Regions from separate parts of the Homo sapiens genome. Here all the other regions are linked to region 1. The links are contacts of gene promoters, found by promoter capture Hi-C in blood cells and fetal thymus (Javierre and others, 2016). All regions are on one chromosome and are shown on one strand. Each heading gives the region's core, a stretch centred on a gene start or on the middle of the fragment in contact. The rest is flanking DNA. Distances are from core to core; before and after follow the strand shown.

What was found. Contacts are between HindIII fragments. The CHiCAGO score rates a contact against its expected background, and 5 or more counts as called.
Region 2: a contact is called between a fragment that was not itself captured here and the fragment with the promoter of ALG2 in region 1, in 10 of 17 cell types (naive B cells, total B cells, fetal thymus and 7 more). The highest score is 10.8, in naive B cells.
Region 3: a contact is called between a fragment that was not itself captured here and the fragment with the promoter of ALG2 in region 1, in 1 of 17 cell types (naive B cells). The highest score is 5.3, in naive B cells.

What each region holds. Positions count from the first base shown.
Region 1 is chr9:99,220,214-99,224,001 of GRCh38, forward strand. It overlaps ALG2 (ALG2 alpha-1,3/1,6-mannosyltransferase), which reads right to left and starts at 1,729. Exons shown (of 2, transcript NM_033087.4): 1 at 1,334-1,729. The coding sequence starts at 1,681. It overlaps SEC61B (SEC61 translocon subunit beta), which reads left to right and starts at 2,069. Exons shown (of 4, transcript NM_006808.3): 1 at 2,069-2,153; 2 at 2,333-2,430. The coding sequence starts at 2,151. RefSeq lists an enhancer at 1,819-2,138. The HindIII fragment of the contact is 2,183 bases long and covers 776-2,958 here.
Region 2 is chr9:99,813,580-99,817,367 of GRCh38, forward strand. The region is part of intron 1 of LOC101928438 (a long non-coding RNA gene); the gene reads right to left. Among named protein-coding and RNA genes, the nearest start is that of NR4A3, 6.4 kb to the right of the region's middle. The HindIII fragment of the contact is 3,095 bases long and covers 503-3,597 here.
Region 3 is chr9:99,793,483-99,797,270 of GRCh38, forward strand. All of the region lies in intron 2 of LOC101928438 (a long non-coding RNA gene), which reads right to left. Among named protein-coding and RNA genes, the nearest start is that of NR4A3, 27 kb to the right of the region's middle. The HindIII fragment of the contact is 1,392 bases long and covers 1,365-2,756 here.

The sequences.
Region 1 (3,788 bases), core at 479-2,978:
AAAAAAAAGAAGTAAAAGGATGTTCATTACAACACTGATCTATTCACAAAAAACTAGTCACAACATTAGTGTCCTTTAAGGAGAATGTTTAATTATGACACACTTAAACAAAAGTGGATTTTCTGGCCACTATGAAGAATGAAGTGAATCTCTAATATTGATACATAAGAATGTCCCGGCTGGGCGCAGTGGCTCATGCCTGTAATCCCAGCACTTTGGGAGGCCGAGGTGGGCGGATCGCGAGGTCAGGAGTTCGAGACCAGCCTGGCCAACATGGTGAAACCCCATCTCTACTAAAAATAGAAAAAATTAGCCGGGCGTGGGGCGCGCACCTGTACTCCCAGCTACTCTGGAGGCGGAGGTTGCAGTGAGCCGAGATCGCGCCACTGCACTCCAGCCTGGGAGACAGAGCAAGACTCCGTTTCAAAATAAATAAATAAATAAATAAATTTTTGCTGAAAAAGATGCCTAATAGTAGGTATGTCATAATACCAATTATGTACCAATAAGAAGATATAGATATACCTATGAAAAGACACAGGCTGGTGTCACCACAACTTCTGAAAAAATACAAGAGAAACTTAACGGTGGCTATCTTCAGGGAGTAGAATAGGACGGGGCTTTTAGGTTACATCCTTCTATACTACTAAATTTTTAATCGAGTAAATGTTACTTTTTAAAGTCATCTTTTTTAGGATGGGGAAAAATGCACGAAGGAAAGAGTCAAGAATAGCTACAGGGCAGATCCAGGTGGACATTATTTACCAAGGTAAAAAGCTTGAACTTTTCTCCAAAAACCAATGGGGAGCCATGTACAAGTTTTAATAGGGGCATGATATATTCAGCTTGGCGTTTTTAACACATGACACTGCTGAGGACGGTGTGGCCTGGCTCCGAACACAAGGACAGTGGGATGCAAATGGCCTGAAAGGAGAGTCAACAAAAATAACAGGTAAGCGGGAAGACAACACGCGAGTTACTCATTAGTAAAAGGTGACTGAAGCTGACTTCTAATACCAGCGTTTCTCAGAGCCCCAAAGACTATCTACCTCGGAATCACCCTATGACCCAGTTAAAATGCAGATGTCTGGGCCCCACCTCAGGGCACCTGGATGAAAACTTCCTGGAGGATGGAACCCCAGCAATCTGCAACTTTAAATGGGCCCACACTAAAGTTAGAGAACCACAGGCTCGCTCACAACCCTGACTTCTCCATGTCAGTTCCGATCTTTGCGAACCGCAGACAGGGAAGGTCTTCTCTCAGGGGTCATGCCCGCGGCCGCCCTCCACGGCGAGGTCCGCACTCGCGCAGCCGGCCCCGCGGCCGCCTCACCTGGTCGCACACTACCACGTCGAACTCCTCGTCGGCGAGGAACAGCACGTAGAGCGCCAGGAAAACCATGCGCACGTAGGCGCAGACGGCGGCGCCGCGGCCGCCCCAGCCCAGGCCTCGCGGCAGCCAGTCCCCGGCACAGCGCACCGGTAGCTCGCGGCTCTCGGCGAAACAGTGGCCCGGGTCGTAGTGCGCTGTCCAGATCTTCACGCTACACCCGCGCGCCTGCAGCGCCAGCGCCGCGTCCAACACCAGCCGCTCAGCGCCGCCCACGCCCAGGTCTGGGTGGAGGAACAGCACCGACGGCTTGGGAACCGAGTCCCGTTCCCGGCCCTGCTCCTCCGCCATGGCCCTGGAGCCGCAACTGCACCCCGCACCCTGATGGGGGTCTTCTGCGCAAGCTCCGCGCTCGTAGCTCCCAGCTGGCCACTGCGGGCCGACCCCGCCCTGCCGTACGTGCGTCAGTTAGGCCACATCAGCGCAAATCTGTGAGGGTCTAGTAACTGCCTGAGAAAATATCTTGTCTGACCCCGGTTATATTTTTCCTTCGGTAGGGATTGGACTTTCTGAAGGACGTTGTGATCCAAAGGAAGGAGGCCGGAGGTCTCTACTTCCCATACAGCAGGTAACTAAGTTGTCTGTAGCAGACTGTCTACAGGCATATCGTGAGACGACCCAGGCGTCCCTGGGGTCAGAGAGGACCTTGCCTGCAAGTCCGGGGGCGGGGCCTGAGTCAGTCTCGCCAGCTGCCGGTCTTTCGGGGGCTCCGTAACTTTCTATCCGTCCGCGTCAGCGCCTTGCCACCCTCATCTCCAATATGGTATGGCGGCCCTTCCATGATCCCCGCCTCTCCCAGAAGCCCTGACTCCTCCTGCTTTGCGCCGTGCTTTTCCTCTGTAGCTCCCTTGCTTCCCCCAGCCTCGGGTGTGGGTGTCTAGGCCGGGGTTCTGGGGCAGGCCTGCCGCGCTCACCCGTCTGTCTGCTTGTCTCCCTCTACAGCCTGGTCCGACCCCCAGTGGCACTAACGTGGGATCCTCAGGGCGCTCTCCCAGCAAAGCAGTGGCCGCCCGGGCGGCGGGATCCACTGTCCGGCAGAGGTAAGGAACCCTGCAGTTCGTTCGCTTCCAGACTCGGAGATAGGACCCAGAACCTCGCTGATTCTGGGGTGGAGACCCTAGCATGTGAAGATTGACAAAGGCAAAATGAGCTTCTAGTGACGTGGCCGTGGGAGTAGTTAAAGGCCTTTTGGGAGGAAGGCGACATTTTTTTTCTCGTTGCTCAGTTTAGGGCACTACTCTTAAAAAAGGAAAGTTAACAAACTGGAATAGAGTCAGAGATAACTTTGAGAAAACCGATGTCATTAAACTGGTGTCTCTGGACCTGAGGTTTGCACTCACATTTCCATCTGGCGGCCCCATAAGCAATCTGTCCTACAGATAACTCGTCCTACACAAAACTTAGTCTCTTTTCAGCTCAGCTCTCTCACTCTCAATTATATCTCCTTACTTCCATATGGCACTGTTGTACACTCATTTACTCAGAGCCAGAAACGTCAGCGTCATCTTGGATTTTTCTTATGCTCTTTCTCTCTCTAGTCATATGCCAGACTTTAAACTCTGCTTGAAAGCTTTCTCATAAGCTCTTTCCTTTTCCCTTTCTACTGCTTTGCATTTGCTACTTAACCCTTTTCTTCAGGCTGTTTGCTTTCCAGTCCATCGTTCGCTCTGCTGTTACTCTTCTGCGTAGTTTCTGTTACTTGTTGCTGAACTAAAAAAAACAAACAAACAAAAAAAAAAAACCGGGGGGATACCAAAGCTCTTAGTGGTCATTTCAGCCTAACCTTTCTTTTTCCTTTTTTTTTTTTTGGGATGGAATCTCACTCTGTCGCCCAGGCTGGAGTGCAGTGGCACGATCTCGGCTCACTACAGCCTTTGCCTCCAGAGTTCAAGCAATTCTCCTGCCTCAGCCTCCTGAGTAGCTGAGACTGCAGGCACGTGCCACCACACCCAGCTAATTTTTTGTATTTTTAGTAGAGACGGGGTTTCACCATGTTAGCCAGGATGGTCTCGATCTCCTGACCTTGTGATCCTCCGTCTCTGCCTCCAAAAGTGCTGGAATTACAGGCGTGAGCCACTGCGCCCGGCCTTCAGCCTAATCTTTCTTTGCTGTCCTATGATCCAGCACTCGTGAACCCATTACTGTTTTCTGAATTCACAAACTTTCTCCCTCATCTCAAGGCAAATTTCTACTTATTTTCCAAGACTAAGCTCAGGGGTTATTTCCTCTTGAGGCCTTCTCTGTCTGTAAGCAGCAGTAGCTACTAGTTTTCCCTTTTGCCCCCATAGCATTTTGTTCATATCATTATAAGACCAGTGATGTTTCCATATTTATCTCCTTCATTAGACTTTAACAGAGAACCTGCTCAAGTCATTTCTATCCCAGGTACCCACCATAA
Region 2 (3,788 bases), core at 800-3,299, 590 kb after region 1:
CACTCGGAGGCCTTGAATAGTAACATCTAGAACTGGAAAGCAAAGTGAGGATTACAGTTGGAAATCAATTAGAGTTGAGGAACTCACTGATGAATAGGTTATATATGCCGCCCAGGCAGAGACAGTGAAGAAAAGAGAAAAGAACACAATCTTGTGAAACTATCGCAGCAAAAGTGGCATATCAAAATAGAGAGATAAGCCAGAGATTAATTCCTGGGGGTACCTGGGGTTAAAAAGTAAGGCATAACAATTCCTCAGGACACCTGAATCGGTTCTCAGTTCAAATGCAGATGTCCCAGAGTGCTATAACTCAGGGGTACCTCCCTCAATCTGGGCAACCAGAAGTGTCTGTAGACTCGGTGCAACGGTGGAAGAGGGTAGTGCAGGTGCAGCAGCACAGTGATGTACGCTCCTCTCTTATGCCTAACGAGTGAAACTATCCCAGAAAAGTTCTAAGGCCGTGAGGCTGGTTAAGATAAAGAAAATAGAATATTTTGGATAAAGCTTCCTGCAAACTGCTTTCATTCAATCATCAAATGTTTACGGAGCACCACTCTTCCTCTTAATACCTACTCTTAGCATGCCAAGAACTGCTAAGTACTCAATAAGTTCATCCCAAAGAAGATTCATCCCAAATACATAGATCCAAGATAACTGAAACAAAAAGACATTTTTAAAGACATTGAGACAACAGAAGCTGTTCTCAAAAAAATTTTTTAACTATGGAAAAGTCAATTTGACAACTATGAAAGACTACAGTAACTGGATCTCAAATTTTGTCCGGTTTATGCTATTGTTTTAAAAAATGAAACCGGTAATTTAACATGCAAATTTCCAGAATTTAGAAAAAGTTACATAGTTTATTTCAATTTTACTAAACTTAAGTAGCAGAAATCTTTAAAATATGGCTTTCTATTCTCCTCATCACAATTGATAAAACAGGAAAACATAACTGGAAAAGGGAACTAATTCAGAACAGATGTCAGGGAAGAATTTTTCCAGTAGTGAACTATAAACATGCAGAATAAATACTGGAAAATGTATTATGGTAAAAAAATCAGAATCAGTTACTAATTGCATGATCTAAAGAGGAAACCAGATACCTAAATATGTAGAATAGGCATTTAAAAAATAGATAAACCATGTTTTCACTATCTAAACCTAACTAAAATGATACCTCAACCTGTAATCTGTTAAAATTCAGATACTTCCCAATGCCTACAAAGTGAGCTCTTATTTATCTATAAAGGTCTATCCATCCACAAACCTAACAAGTTTGCAAATAGAGCCTACTGTATTCATCCTGGTTGTTTTGCCATTTTTTTTTTTCAACTTAACACCTACTTGGTACTTTCCTTGTGATCTGCCTTCTCACTATTTCACTATTTATTTACACTCCGAAGGGAGATGTAGACTTGCAACCCCACCATCATCAAGCCTTTTCTAGAAAGAAGCAGAAAAAGGACAGTTCTGCCTCCACTGCTACACTTAAGAAATGGTTTGTGCTTTGCATGCAGTGAGGATCAGAAAGGAACTGAAGAGGAGCAAACAACAGAATCCATTCCAATGAAAGTTTGCTAATTTGTATGAAGTCAATTTGTGACTCATCCATATTCAAATGAAGGCACAAAAACAAATTCCAAAGCTAAATATAAAATGACTTTTGGACTATCCAGGTTTCTGCTCATTTCTACTTCATGGACAGAAGGCTGTGATGCTGGCAGCATTAACTCTCTCAGGCCACCAAGATCCCACTCAGTGGCTATAGTTCATTACCATGCAGGCCAAAGCAGTTTAATATAACATTACTACTAAAAGCACATGTATTGTATACAAGACAGTTTGTAAGTCTCCTGGCCATAGCAATCACTTTAGGAGACCAGGGCACAGCTGATTCACAATATTTAATGTGTCTAAAAAAGCATTCAACTTTAGAACTTGAAATTTCCTTAAAGATCATAAAGTGAGCCCAACACTATCATTTTACAAATAATATTTAGGCCCCCCGAAAAGATGAACTTACCCAAGGCTGGGCACCTTCATGGCAGCAAAGCCAGACCCAGGCCTCTGAGAAGCAGTCTAGTACTTTTTGTGATATATAGCATCTCACTGTTGGAGAATATGCTGAAGGAACTGAACTTGTATGTGAGGCAATCTTTTTGGTTTTTTTCAGAGTGGAAATGATGGGAAAGGGTTATGCAGTTATATTTGGAAAGAGGTATTTACTTCATCCATCAACTCTAGTTAAAAGGCAGATCTTGTTTCGTAGGCATAAATAATATCCTGAATTGGTTTATCACACATGAATAATAACTTTTCTCCCCCAGATTATTGAGGTCTTCCAGAGTTTACCAATGATTGAGGAAAACATGACTAAGAAATAAACTATCTTTTTAACCAGACTGCAAGCCTGTCCTGACTCTTATTATTTCTAATGGATGAAAAGACATTATTTAATGAGATTTTAAAGTAATATTGGCACTTATACTATTAAGTAATCTTTCCATCTCAGGTTTCTACTTTTTCCAAAATTTTCTACAATTAGAAAGTCTTTCCTGATCTACTATGTTACTTTCTCCTTGTTAAAGTAAACTTTAATATTCAGTCATTGATATTAATATTCAATCATATTGAGCTTCTATCTAAAAATTCTAAAAAATCGTAATCCAAAATTGTTTTGCTCATTTTACTTCTGCATATAGTAGCATGCAAACCTATTTCAATATATTTTGGAAAAGATGAGATTCAAGAATTTTCATATTTAATTGGTTATACAAAAATGTCACGGTTCGCAATTTTCCAAACCTTAAAAACTTTTTTCTAAAAGAAGTTGATATTAACATTTCCTAGCCTACAGCATCTAGTTCATAAGTGAGAGAAAGCAGCATAAGAGAAAGTACAAATAGAGGGGAAAGAGGTTAGAATTAGAGTCAAACCAAAAGTCTATCAGGAAAAAAAAAATCATAGCAAATCTTCCTACACAGATACAATAGATAAAGACAAACTGCCATTTTCTTGTTATCACCACGCAGCTGTCTGGGCTTGTGGCAGGCACCTTGATAAAGTATGTTCTATCTGGAGTATCAAGTTGAAGTAAAGAAAGCAACCAATAAATAAACTTATACATGCCCACTCGTGCCAAAAATACCCTATTCCAGCCAGGCATGGTGGCACATGCCTGTAATCCCAGCACTTTGGGAGGCAGAGGCGGGCAGATCACTTGAGGTCAGGAGTTGGAGACCAGCCTGGCCAACATGGTGAAAACCCCATCTCTACTAAAAATGCAAAAATTAGCCAGGTGCGGTGGCAGGCACCTGTAATCCCAGCTACTCCAGAGGCTGAGGCAGGAGAATCACTTGAACCCGGGAGGTGGAGGTTGCAGGGAGCAAAGATCGTCCCACCTGGGTGACAGAGCAAGACTCCATCTCAAAAAAAAAAAAAAAAACACTAATCCATATAATTTGTTACTTATAATATGGCTATTCTCTCTATTCATATCCAAATTAAAGGAGGCAATATTTTATGGACATTTACTGTCCATATCGAACATTCTTAGGTGCCACAGGGATTTCAAAGATGTGTGGGGTATGCTTTTGAAGCTTACACTTTGACAAGGGAATAGACCATGGACACAAGAGCACAAAAAGAAGGCAGAAAAATAAGAACTTTGTGAAAGACTCTGTGAAAGACTTTGTAAAGTAAATCTGAGTTCACTTCTTGGGCTAGTTTTAGAGGAAGAGTAAATTTCAATTAGTGGAGAAGAAGAGGAAGGAGGGGATGCCATAAAA
Region 3 (3,788 bases), core at 811-3,310, 570 kb after region 1:
GTGTTCGGTAGTTCTTCTCTTGCTCACTCTTCTCATCTGCCACCATGTACGACGTGCCTGCTTCCCCTTCCACCATGATTGTAAGTTTCCTGAGGCCTCCCCAGCCATGCGGAACTGAGTCAATTAAATCTCCTTCCTTTATAAATTACCCAATCTCAGGTATTCCTTTATAGCAGTGTGAAAGCAGACTAATACACTAGGATGATAGGCATAAGCCATTGCACCTGACCTCTTTGTATTCTTTATTTGCTGAATCAGGAATATTTGAACTATTTCTGAACTTTTCTGAATTTATTAAGAGGACTATATCATTTTCCTCCTTTATTATGTTAATACGTGAAATACATTAATTGATTTTTGGATTAAACAATCTTGTACTCCTGGGATAAACCCCACTTGGTCATGATGTACTAACATTTTTATATATTGCTGTATTCAACATAATATTTCATTAAGGATTTTTGTGTCTATGATCATAAGGAATATTGATGAATTTTCTTTGCTTGAAATATTTTTCTCAGATTTTGGTATCTGGATAATGTCTGCCTCATAAAATGGGCTCCTCAATTTTCTGAATTTACCTAACTTTAATATTATTACTTGTTTGTGATATTCACCAAAGAAACCATATGGACCTGGAGTTTTCTTCATGGGGGTAAAGTTTTTTTGCCACAAATTCAAATTTTTAGATATAAGGCTATTCATTTTTTCTATTCCATCTTGCATTAGCTTAATCTGAGAACATGTCTAATTTATTGAATTTTTTCGTATAAAATTTTCATAATATTCCCTTATTATTTTTTTTTAATTGAGATGGAGTTTCACTCGTTGCCCAGGCTGTACAGTGGTGCAATCTCAGCTCACTGCAACCTCTGCCTCCCAGGTTCAAGTGATTCTCCTGCCTCAGCCTCCTGAGTAGTTGGGATTACAGGCGTGCACTACCAGGCCCAGCTAATTTTGTATTTTTAGTAGAGATGGGGTTTCACCATGTTGGTCAGGCTGGTTTTGAACTCCTGACCTCAAGTGATCCACCCACCTCTGCCTCCAAAGTGCATGAGCCACTGTGCCCAGCCTCTCTTATTATTCTTTTAATGTTAGTATGATCTATAGTCATATAACTTTCATTCCCAATTTTGGTCATTTCTGTTTTCTCTTTCCTTATCAGTTTTGTTGGGGGTTCATCAAGTTTATTGTACTTTCCAAAGAACAAACTTTAGACTTTTTAAATTTTCTCTATTGTCTCTATTTGGCTGCTTTCTGTCCTTATCTTTACTTATTTTGGGTTCGGTTTGGTCTTCTTTTTCTAATTTCTTAAGGAAGTTTAGAGACAGAGCAAGATTTGTGTGTGAAGCATCCCAAATTCAAGCTTCATTATCACTTTCACTGGAAGTCTTGGAGACTACCTCCAGGTTGTAGACACACACAAACATACACACACACACACACACATACAGATTTGCCTGAGCTCAGGAGCAAATGTTCATCTTTCCCACGTTGACTGTTTCTGCTGCATATTGCAGCACATTGTACAAGACCCAGGGCCAAAGTTCTGAAGGACCAGGTTCACTGCTTTGAACATGTCTAGAAAGTCCACTAGTGCGTCATCATGGCTCAGACTAAACATGAGTCTGAACTTTCAGGCAAAGATAAGGTCCTAAAGTTTAAATCTCTTTCACATTTCTAAAGACTTTCCTAGGAAACCAGCAGGGAGAGTGTTGTCTCTGCATCACTGTCCACATAAATTTGAGCTCTTTAGATATAAAGGTTACTTATTCTGGACCATGGACCATGGATACCTACAGCTATAATTTTTTAGGTTTTAGCACCCTGATCAACAAGTGCTGTCAACCAATCTGAGATAATTAAAAATTCTAAAATTTGAGTTGGTGGGAGAAAAGGTGTATGGGCAGGTTGGGATAAGAGGAAAATAAGGGAAGAAGACTACTACAGTTTCAAACACAACTGATGATTTCAAACACAACTGATGATGTAAGCAAAGGGTTCAAAAATTGGAAAATAAGAGCTACTCGAAAGGCTGAGGCAGAAGGACTACCTGAGCCCAGTACTTCAAGGACAACCTGGGAAACATAGTGAGGACCCATCTTTAAAAAAAAAAACTAAAAATAAACTGGAGAATTAAAGAATTAGGTCTGTTGCCCTCCTAGTTGGAAGTCTGTAGAAGCCAATGATTTCCAAGGAGACTTTAAGCCTAGAAAGTAAGTCAAGCAATTAACTTAGGTTTTCTGGACATCTTCTATTTCCCTCAGATTTTCTCCGCATCTCTTTTCAGCAGTATGTCTTCTACAATTTATTAATTTCCATTATGGCCTTAAATCTGTGGAAACTTTTCCATTGTGAAGTCATGAAAATTGGAAAAGAATCTGGAGGAATAACATACCATGAGACAGACCTGCCTCCAAACCAGACATCTCTTTCAGTATTTGTGAGGCCTCCCTTCAGTTTCTTTACTACTCAGAGCTTCACCAGGACAATCAAACAAACATAGAGGTTGTGGGAGCTCTAATGCAGCAATGAAGGTGAAGGTGAAGCCTGCTTGCTAAGAACAATCTGCTGTCATAAGACATTTAAAGAAAGGTAATATTTTTGGACATTTTTCTGTAACTGAAAAGATATTAAATATACAATGCATCTTGTCTTTTATCCTTTCAAAACTATTTACTGAATGTCCACTATGTACCAGGCATTGTGTGAGGGATAAAAAGATTAAATGGTAAGCAAAGAAACAGAGAAAAGAAAGCTTAAAGGCAGTTGTGAATGGAAAAGGTGGGAATGGAGGAGAAAACCTGAATTGTTAGTGAGTTCCTTTATTACCAAAGACTGCATGTTCTTAGACCCTTGAATCAGGAAAAAAAAAAAAAAAAAAAAAAACAAGTAGCTATGCTGGATCTCTGCTGACATGAATGGCAGGGAGTGGGTGTGTGTGTGTGTGTGTGTGTGTGTGTGTGGTAGGTTTTGGAGAAGATGAGAGAGCATAAGGAGAATACCTCAATTTCTGCCCAATAGAAGTGGGAGGATGGAATCACTGATGTTCCAGAAGCTAAGAAAGGAAAAATGTAAATTATTTTCTTTACGCATGTGGTTTGCACAACATCCTCCAACATAAGACTCCCACTTGGGTCCTAAAGTTGGAAAAATCTGGGGAGTATAAAGAAGGGGAACAGAGCAACAAGACTTGACACAGTATGCCAGATGTCAGCACTAGCAGACTGACTTCCAAAGGGGGAGCTTTTTCAGATATTCTCCAGGTGCATCGGTCATGTGCCTTACAAACCTGGCTGGAATTAATGACCTTTGTGTAAATTACAGAGATATATTTCTCACATAATTCCCCGTGTGCAGCAGGGTAGCAAGGAAAGAGTTCTTTAAGTGGGGATAATCTGAAGAGCCCTTAAGAACTCCCTACTCCAAATAGTATTTCCCATGTTGACTGAAATTCTTCATTTTGTTTCACTGCTTCAGAACTGATCGATCTGTGATCATCTCACCATAACTGCAGAGGCAGTTATAGCATAGTATAGTAATTAGAGCGTGAATTCTGAAATCAGATTGCCTTGTTCACCCTGGACTTCACCACAAATTGTTCATGTGTCTTAATAATTACTAAGAATTACATTGACGGCCGGGCGCGGTGGCTCACGCCTGTAATCCCAGCACTTTGGGAGGCCGAGGCGGGTGGATCATGAGGTCAGGAGATCGAGACCATCCTGGCTAACAAGGTGAAACCCCGTCTCTACTAAAAATACAAAAAAAATTAGCCGGGCGCGGTG